Linked DNA regions of Homo sapiens: region 1 is linked to region 2. Evidence: promoter capture Hi-C in 16 types of primary human blood cells and fetal thymus (Javierre and others, 2016). All regions are on one chromosome and are shown on one strand. The core of a region is centred on a gene start or on the middle of the fragment in contact, and the rest is flanking DNA. Distances in the headings are between cores, read along the strand shown. Region 1 holds the start of MARCKSL1 (MARCKS like 1). Region 2 holds the start of RNF19B (ring finger protein 19B).

Region 1 (4,000 bases), core at 944-3,443, 630 kb after region 2:
CATGGGGCTGCTGTAACCTCCCACCCCCACCCTGAAGCATCCTAAACCTCTTGCCTCTTCCAGAAGTCAGATTCTGCTGGGACCTGGATTTGCTGAGGGATCAGGCTCCCAGGCGCCCCCTCCCCAGCCTCCTGGGATGTCTGGTGGGGATACAGGGCATCCCCTGGGGACCAGGCTCCCTCTGGGGCTCTGGGGACTTGGGGTCTTTTACCCTGATGCTCTTCGATGCCCCTCCTGGGATCCTTGGGAAGATTTGCCTCTCATCCCCGCCAGGCAGTGCCTGGGGATCAGAAGCCTTAGGTTCTGCTCTTAACCTCTGACCCCAACCCGTGCAAGACTCACACACCCTCCGTCCCTCTGAGCCCAGCCAGCTGGTGCGGGCAGCGCCTGGCAGCATTGTGGGTTCCCTATTGTGGCTGAGACAGAGAGCAGGTCATGACATCCTTCCCTTAGTGGCAAGCTGTGGAGAAGTCACGGTACTTTCAGTGAGCTGCAGTGGGGGCACAGTGCCTCTCCCCGTCCCAAAGCTAGCCCTTGCCTCCCACTCTGACCAGGCAGCCCCAGATCTCAACAGAAAATTCTGCCAGGGGATTCCTTACAGCCCTTGGCCCATGTTATCAAACCTCTCCAAGCCTTTTCTCACCCTCAGCTACTGGTAGCTGCTGTGTGCCCTTGGGCATGTCACTTTCTCTTCCTGAACCTCAGGGTCCCAGTCTGTGAAATGGGGCGGGGGTGGGGGGCAAGTGAAGCTGAGATAGCTGAGGGTATTCTGTAGTCTCAGGGTGGGGGTGGGGATGGAGGATACAGGAGTGAGTGCAGAATGCAGAAGCCACCTCAGCCCTCCCCGCCCCTCTGTGGTCAGATCTCTGGGGAGTTCCCAATTTCTCAGGCCCTGGGGTGTCTCCACACTTCACAGCCTCAGGCCTCCCAGGAGGCTTCACCGTAGGAGGGAGGGGAGGGACTTGCTGAGCTGGCTGGGACACAGCCTTGCATTTGCAACACTTTGCTTCCTTCCAGCCCCCATCCCTTTCCTCCTGGGGGCTGAGGGCTGGCAGCCGGACACAGACATCCGGGGCCGGCCAGGATTCTGGGGTTCCCACCAGCCTATCCAGGCCAGCAGAAGGAGAGGTGGCAGAGGACCAAAGCTAGGGAGTCTCCAGCCCGGAGCACCTCCGGGCTCCCTTGCTCTCAGGCAGGGTGGGAAGCTGGGCTGGGCAGCTTTGAGGGCTGTCCTCAAGGGGCTGTCCCTTGAAGGGACCCTTGGTAGCATCCTATCCCTCCCCTTCAGAAACTGGGGTGTTTTGAGGTTTGTTGAGTCCCCAGCTGGGGTTCCTCTGCCGGCCTGGGGCACCCTGATGTAGGGGAGCAGAGTTGTGTGTGGAGGTAAAGAGGAAGGACCAGAGCCAAGTCAGACAGGTTGTCAATGCCTCTGAGCCTTGGCCTTTCAATGGGGATGGAGATGCCCTTCAAGGTCACAAAGTCCCCCACGTGGGACTTTGCAGTGGGTCCAGGCTGAGGGCAGGAGGGGCTCAAGGCGAATCTGTCTGTCCCCACTCAGAATGACTGGCCACCAAGGGACTGAAAGGAGGAATGAGGGAAAGGCCTCACTAGTCCGACCAGAGTGACCCCGAGGCAAGGCAGAGCCCTCCGCTCCCCGGCTGGCCATGGCAGGCAGGCAGGGACGTGGGTGGGACCTCTGACCGCTCTCCAGGCCGGAGCGGGTGCCGAGCCCAGCGCAGGGGCCCTGCAGCTTCTATGACCACATTTCTAGAGTATAATTCAGGACCAGCCATCTGACGAGCCTGGTCGTGTGAGCCCTTCGAAGGGTTCAAGCGGGAGACTGCCAGCGGCTGCAGGACCAAGGCGTTGGGGGCCGCTCCAGGCTGCGGGGGCGCCCACCGGAGAGGTGGAGCGGAGAGGATGGAATGACTGCCCGTCTCCTTCCTCCAGGCCCCCCGCCCCGCCCCGCCCAGCTCGCGGGAGGACTGGCCTCGCTCCTGCCCACACCGGACTCTACCTGCCCCTGGGATTCGGGTGGGGTGGGGGGTACCCGACCGCCAGCGTCGCCTGCTGCGCAAGTGGGGCCTGCGAGCCAACCCCGCCTCCGCCCCTCGATTGGGCGCGCATTTAAATGTCCGGCCCCGCCCCGAGCTCCGGGCGCTTATATATAGGCAGCTCGGCGGGCGGCGGGCGGCATTCTGGCGCGGAGCGGAGCGGCGGCGGGCGCAGCTAGCGGGTCGGCCGCGGAGCGGAGGTGCAGCTCGGCTTCCCCCGGCACCCCTCCCCCTCGGGCGCCAGCCCCACCCCTCCGCCGGCCGGGCCGACCCCGCCGTACTATCCCCTGCGGCGCGAGCCCGGGGCGGCTCCAAGCGCCCCCCAGCAGACCCCCATCATGGGCAGCCAGAGCTCCAAGGCTCCCCGGGGCGACGTGACCGCCGAGGAGGCAGCAGGCGCTTCCCCCGCGAAGGCCAACGGCCAGGTGGGTACGCTTGGCCCGGCCGGCCCCAGCCCCTCCTCTCGCACCTCGCCCCTTCTAGGGCCCGGGGCCGGGGCCGGGGCCGCGCGCTTTGTCCGGCCCGGGACACGCGGCGCCCCCTCCCCCGCCCGGTCCCTTTGTTCTCGGCGCCGCAGCCCCCGCGGGCGAAGCGAGGGGAGGGGCGGGGAGGGGGCGCCGGCCGGGCCCTGCCGCCTTCTTTGTTCGCGGCCCCGGTCCCCGGCGCTGCCCCCCGGCCGCCCCGAGTGCCGCGCGGGGAACAAAGGCGCTGCTGGGCCACGCCAAGGGGGCGCCCAGGGGCCGCGGAGCTGGGGCCCGGCGGGGAGCGCACTCCACCCGCCGACCCGACCTCGGTGGCCCACGGTCTTTTTTTTTTTAAGGGGGAGCCGAGATGCGGGAGAGCCTGGGGTGGGTGGGGGCCACTTACACAAAGCGGGAGGCTGGGAAAATAGGCCGTCCAGGTGCAGAGAGACAGCGCCCCGGGGCGGCTTCCCGCCCAATGTCGCCTAGAGCGGCTCGCCCGCCTGCCCGGGATCCGCACAGCAGATCCGGAGCGGTTCCGCGCGGAATAGAGAGCGCGCCCCGGGGGACGGGGGTGGGGGCCACGGGACCCCAGCGCCTCCTGCCGGTCGCGCCCTCTGCGCGCTCGCTCCCCGCGCGCCCGTGAGGGGCGAGAGGGAGGTGTTTGACGGGATCCTGGGTGTGGGTGAGGCTGAAGCCAGACTTTCGGGTTGCAGTAGAATCGAATCGAGGACCCCTTCCTCTAGAAGGGATCAGAAGCGGGCTGGGGGAGGGGGAGCCCCTGCCCTCATTGCTATTCCCTCTGCCCTGCAGGAGAATGGCCACGTGAAAAGCAATGGAGACTTATCCCCCAAGGGTGAAGGGGAGTCGCCCCCTGTGAACGGAACAGATGAGGCAGCCGGGGCCACTGGCGATGCCATCGAGCCAGCACCCCCTAGCCAGGGTGCTGAGGCCAAGGGGGAGGTCCCCCCCAAGGAGACCCCCAAGAAGAAGAAGAAATTCTCTTTCAAGAAGCCTTTCAAATTGAGCGGCCTGTCCTTCAAGAGAAATCGGAAGGAGGGTGGGGGTGATTCTTCTGCCTCCTCACCCACAGAGGAAGAGCAGGAGCAGGGGGAGATCGGTGCCTGCAGCGACGAGGGCACTGCTCAGGAAGGGAAGGCCGCAGCCACCCCTGAGAGCCAGGAACCCCAGGCCAAGGGGGCAGAGGCTAGTGCAGCCTCAGAAGAAGAGGCAGGGCCCCAGGCTACAGAGCCATCCACTCCCTCGGGGCCGGAGAGTGGCCCTACACCAGCCAGCGCTGAGCAGAATGAGTAGCTAGGTAGGGGCAGGTGGGTGATCTCTAAGCTGCAAAAACTGTGCTGTCCTTGTGAGGTCACTGCCTGGACCTGGTGCCCTGGCTGCCTTCCTGTGCCCAGAAAGGAAGGGGCTATTGCCTCCTCCCAGCCACGTTCCCTTTCCTCCTCTCCCTCCTGTGGATTCTCCCAT
Region 2 (4,050 bases), core at 1,485-3,984:
TCGGCCTCCCAAAGTGCTAGGATTACAGGCATGAGCCACCGTGCCTGGCCTCCAGCTCTCTTTTTGAGGCAATACTGAAAGCTTTGCATTGAGATAGTGGAGCCCAAGAGAGAAGTAGTCTGGATCTCTGAGTTACCCAGGAGAGTTGAGGAGAGCTACTCTGGAGAGTGCCTTAACCCACAGCCAGCGTTGCATGAGTGGAAAAGATATACCATTGTTGTGTGTTATGCCATTGAGAAATTTGGCTTGTTTGTTACCATAGCCAAGTCTAGCCTATTCTGCCAGATAAATATAGACATTAATTGTTGTTTTAGCCATCCAGCATCAAACCTCCTTCCTATTTGAGGATTAAACTCTCCCCCTCCTTTAGGACTCTTTGGTGTTGCCAAATCCAGTGGTCACATCTCTGTTCTTATCTTTCTTGATTTCTCAGCAGCATTTGTCACAATTGACCACTCCCTTCTGGGAACATACTATGTTGGTGTCTGTGACATCATGCCTGCTTAGTTTTTCTTTTATGTCACTGGCCCCCGCTTTTCAGTTTTCTTTGTTGGCTCCCCTTCTTGTTTTATGTCAAAAGTTTGAAGTTCTGGAGACCTGGTTTAAAATATCACAGCTGGTTTCCACCTTTTGAGACGATGTCTTTTTGTGTCACCCAGGCTGGAGTGCAGTGGCATAATCACGGCTCACTGCAGTCTCAACCTCCCAGGCTCAAGCATTCCTCCCACCTCAGTCTCCCAAGTAGCGGGGACTACAGGCACACTCCATCACACCCAGATAATTTTTGTATTTTTTGTAGAGATGGGGTTTTGCCATGTTGCTCAAGCTGGTCTCAAACTCCTGGGCTTAAGAGATTCACCAGCCTAGGTCTCCCAAAGTGTTGTAATTACAGGTGCGAGCCACAGCTCCTGGCCCATCTTACCATTCCTTATTAATAACAGAGCACTCATTGTTAGCTGGGCACATTGTACCCAGTTAAGAGAATGTTTCCCAGGCTCCCTTGCAGCTGAGTATGGCCATGTGAGTGAGTATGTTTTGGCAAAAATGTGCGGGACTTTCGAGGCAGTCCTTTTTTCTTTCTTTCTTTTTCTTTTTCTTTTTTTTTTTTTTTTGAGACAGAGTCTCGCTCTGTCGCCCAGGATGGAGTGCAGCGGCGCGATCTCGGCTCACTGCAACCTCCGCCTCCTGGGTTCACGCCATTCTCCTGCCTCAGCCTCTCGAGTTGCTGGGATTACAGGCGCCCGCCACCACGCCCGGCTAATTTTTTATATTTTTAGTAGAGACGGGATTTCACTGTGTTAGCCAGGATGGTCTCCATCTCCTGACCTCGTGATCCGCCAGCCTGGGCCTCCCAAAGTGCTGGGATTACAGGCGTGAGCCTCCGCGCCCAGCCCCAAGGCAGTCTTCTTAAAAGGAAGAGGATGCATCTTTCTTCCCTTTTTCCTTCCCACTGTTTGGAATATGGACCATAGTGAGGTGACCTTAACACTGGAAGCCAAATACTGAGGATGGCTGAACAGCCCTGAACTGCCTACTTTTGGACTTATATTTCATGGAAAGAGAGAAATTTCTGGCTAGGTGCAGCGGCTCATGCCTGTAATCCCAGCACTTTGAGAGGCCAAGGCAGGAGGATCGCTTGAGCCCAGGAGCTCGAGACCAGCCTGAGCAACACAGGGAGATTTCATCTCCATGAAAAAAATAAAAATAATAGGCAGGCCTGGTGGCGCACCTGTGCTCCCAGCTACTCCAGAGGTTGGGGTGGGAGGATCGCTTAAGCTTGGGAGGTTGAGGCTTCAGTGAGCTGTGATCACGCCACTGCACTCCAACCTGGGTGACAGAGCAAAACCGTCTCAGGAAAAAAAATAAATAAATTTCAATCGTAAGCTATTTTTTTCTTTTGTTATTTGCAATTGAATGTAATCCTGATACATTCCTGTTGTTGAAGCTGTTTGCCTGCCTCCCACTAGGAAGCCTAAGGGTCCAGATCCTCCCCCAGTCAGAGGAATGGGGAACTAGAAAAAGAAAGGCAAAGGCACTGCCAGGCAAGAAAACGCTGGGTCTCCTTCCACAAGTTTGGTAAGTAAGCAAGATACCAGGAGGATAGAATGGTAAGTGAGCCTAGAAATAGACTATTATATACATAGGGTTTATTAAATACATAGAGAACACTGAATGCTAGACTAAGAAATTTGGACTTTATTCTGGAAGTCCCTTGCAATAGGGGACCTTGTCTGTTTTATTTTCTAATGCCTCGCACTTTGTAGAAGCTCAGTGAATGAATATATTCTTTATTAATTTATGCCGTCTGCTTAATAAACAGAAATGTTGGAAGGTGAACCAGTTGGGAGTCACCATCTGATCAACCCCTGCCTGCTTTTTATAAATAATGTAACTGAACCATCATTTACTGGAAGTGGCAATCAACCTGTGAGGAACGGCAAACCAAAAAGTCCACCTTGGGTGTCATGGTGATGGAATTGGAGGCGGAGACCAGGGAGAGCAGCGGGCTAGGATCTCTGAGAGTCTCCGCAACATGGCGGCCCTGGAACCACCTGACCGGCAGGAGGCGGAGCTCCGCCCCAGCTCGCTCGGCCCCACCCCGCTCGGCCCTGCCCAGCGCACTCCTAGACCGGGGCGCAAGGGTTGTGAGGTGTTTGAGCGAAGCGCCTGCGCAGGGCAGCGGCGCGCGGGGCGGAGGCTTTATAATCACTTCGTCGTTGCCGCTCGGCTTCTATCGCCGGGAGGGCGGTTGAGGCGGTGGTGGCGGCGTCGGCGGCGGCCGGGCGCTGGCTGAGGGGCGCTGAGGCGGGAGCTGTGGCGGCGCTGGGCGCCCCTGGCTCCTCGGCCTCTGCCGGCCATGGGCTCCGAGAAGGACTCCGAGTCGCCGCGCTCCACATCGCTACATGCGGCCGCACCCGACCCTAAGTGCCGCAGCGGCGGCCGGCGCCGGCGCCTCACCTTGCACAGCGTCTTCTCTGCCTCGGCCCGCGGCCGCCGCGCCCGGGCCAAGCCGCAGGCCGAGCCGCCGCCCCCGGCTGCGCAGCCGCCGCCCGCCCCGGCCCCTGCCGCGGCCCAGGGCCCGCCGCCCGAGGCGCTGCCCGCCGAGCCGGCCGCCGAGGCCGAGGCGGAGGCCGCGGCGGCGGCGGCGGAGCCTGGGTTCGACGATGAGGAGGCGGCGGAGGGCGGTGGCCCGGGCGCGGAGGAGGTGGAGTGTCCGCTGTGCCTGGTGCGGCTGCCGCCTGAGCGGGCCCCGCGCCTCCTCAGCTGTCCGCACCGCTCGTGCCGGGACTGCCTCCGCCACTACCTGCGCCTGGAGATAAGCGAGAGCAGGGTGCCCATCAGCTGCCCCGAGTGCAGCGAGCGACTCAACCCGCACGACATCCGCTTGCTGCTCGCCGACCCGCCGCTTATGCACAAGTACGAGGAGTTCATGCTGCGCCGCTACCTAGCCTCGGACCCCGACTGCCGCTGGTGCCCGGCCCCGGACTGCGGGTGAGCGCGGGGGCGTGGCGCGGGTGGCGGCGGGCTGCAGCCGAGGGGCGTGGCTGGGGGCAGCAGGGACCCCGCGTGGGTGTCCCAAGCAGGGAAACCCGCAAGGCGGCAGCTTCGGCGGGGTGGTAACCATCAGGCAAGCCCAGACTAGTGGTGTGAACGCACCCGACACCCCGCCCCCTGCCCCAGGGCTCGAGGTGGCTGCTAAGCATTCGGTGAGGGGAAGGGAGCTGTCCAAGTTAGGAGACAGGGAGAGGCGGTTTTTTTGTTGGGGGAATGCCCTCTGTCCGGAGGTGAGGACAGTATCTTTTTTTTTTTTTCTTTTTTTTTTTGGAGACGGAGTCTCGCCCTGCCGCCCAGGCTGGAGTGCAATGGCGCGATCTCGGCTCACTGCAACCTCCGCCTCTCAGGTTCAAGCGATTCTCCTGCCTCAGCCTCCCGAGTAGCTGGGATTACAGGCGCCCGCCACCACACCCGGCTAATTTCTTTGTATTTTTAGTAGAGATGGGGTTTCACCATGTTGGCTAGGCTGGTCTCGAACTCCTGACCTCAGGTGAT

The links. The method cuts DNA at HindIII sites, captures the fragments that hold promoters and counts their contacts. A CHiCAGO score of 5 or more calls a contact.
Region 1: the fragment with the promoter of MARCKSL1 here is called in contact with the fragment with the promoter of RNF19B in region 2 in 1 of 17 cell types (neutrophils); the score reaches 5.1 in neutrophils.

Annotation. Positions count from the first base shown.
Region 1 is chr1:32,334,426-32,338,425 of GRCh38, reverse strand. MARCKSL1 (MARCKS like 1) reads left to right here and starts at 2,193. Exons shown (of 2, transcript NM_023009.7): 1 at 2,193-2,479; 2 at 3,329-4,000. The coding sequence starts at 2,393. The coding sequence ends at 3,829. It overlaps LOC124903949 (a long non-coding RNA gene), which reads right to left and starts at 3,049. Exons shown (of 2, transcript XR_007065661.1): 1 at 2,922-3,049. RefSeq lists silencers at 820-948, 1,882-2,411, 2,432-2,581, 2,712-2,791, 2,932-3,371 and enhancers at 1,612-1,701, 1,971-2,540. The HindIII fragment of the contact is 20,076 bases long and covers 1-4,000 here.
Region 2 is chr1:32,963,493-32,967,542 of GRCh38, reverse strand. It overlaps RNF19B (ring finger protein 19B), which reads left to right and starts at 2,734. Exons shown (of 9, transcript NM_001300826.2): 1 at 2,734-3,492. The coding sequence starts at 2,858. RefSeq lists silencers at 2,450-3,019, 3,380-3,589 and an enhancer at 2,635-3,139. The HindIII fragment of the contact is 3,974 bases long and covers 1,779-4,050 here.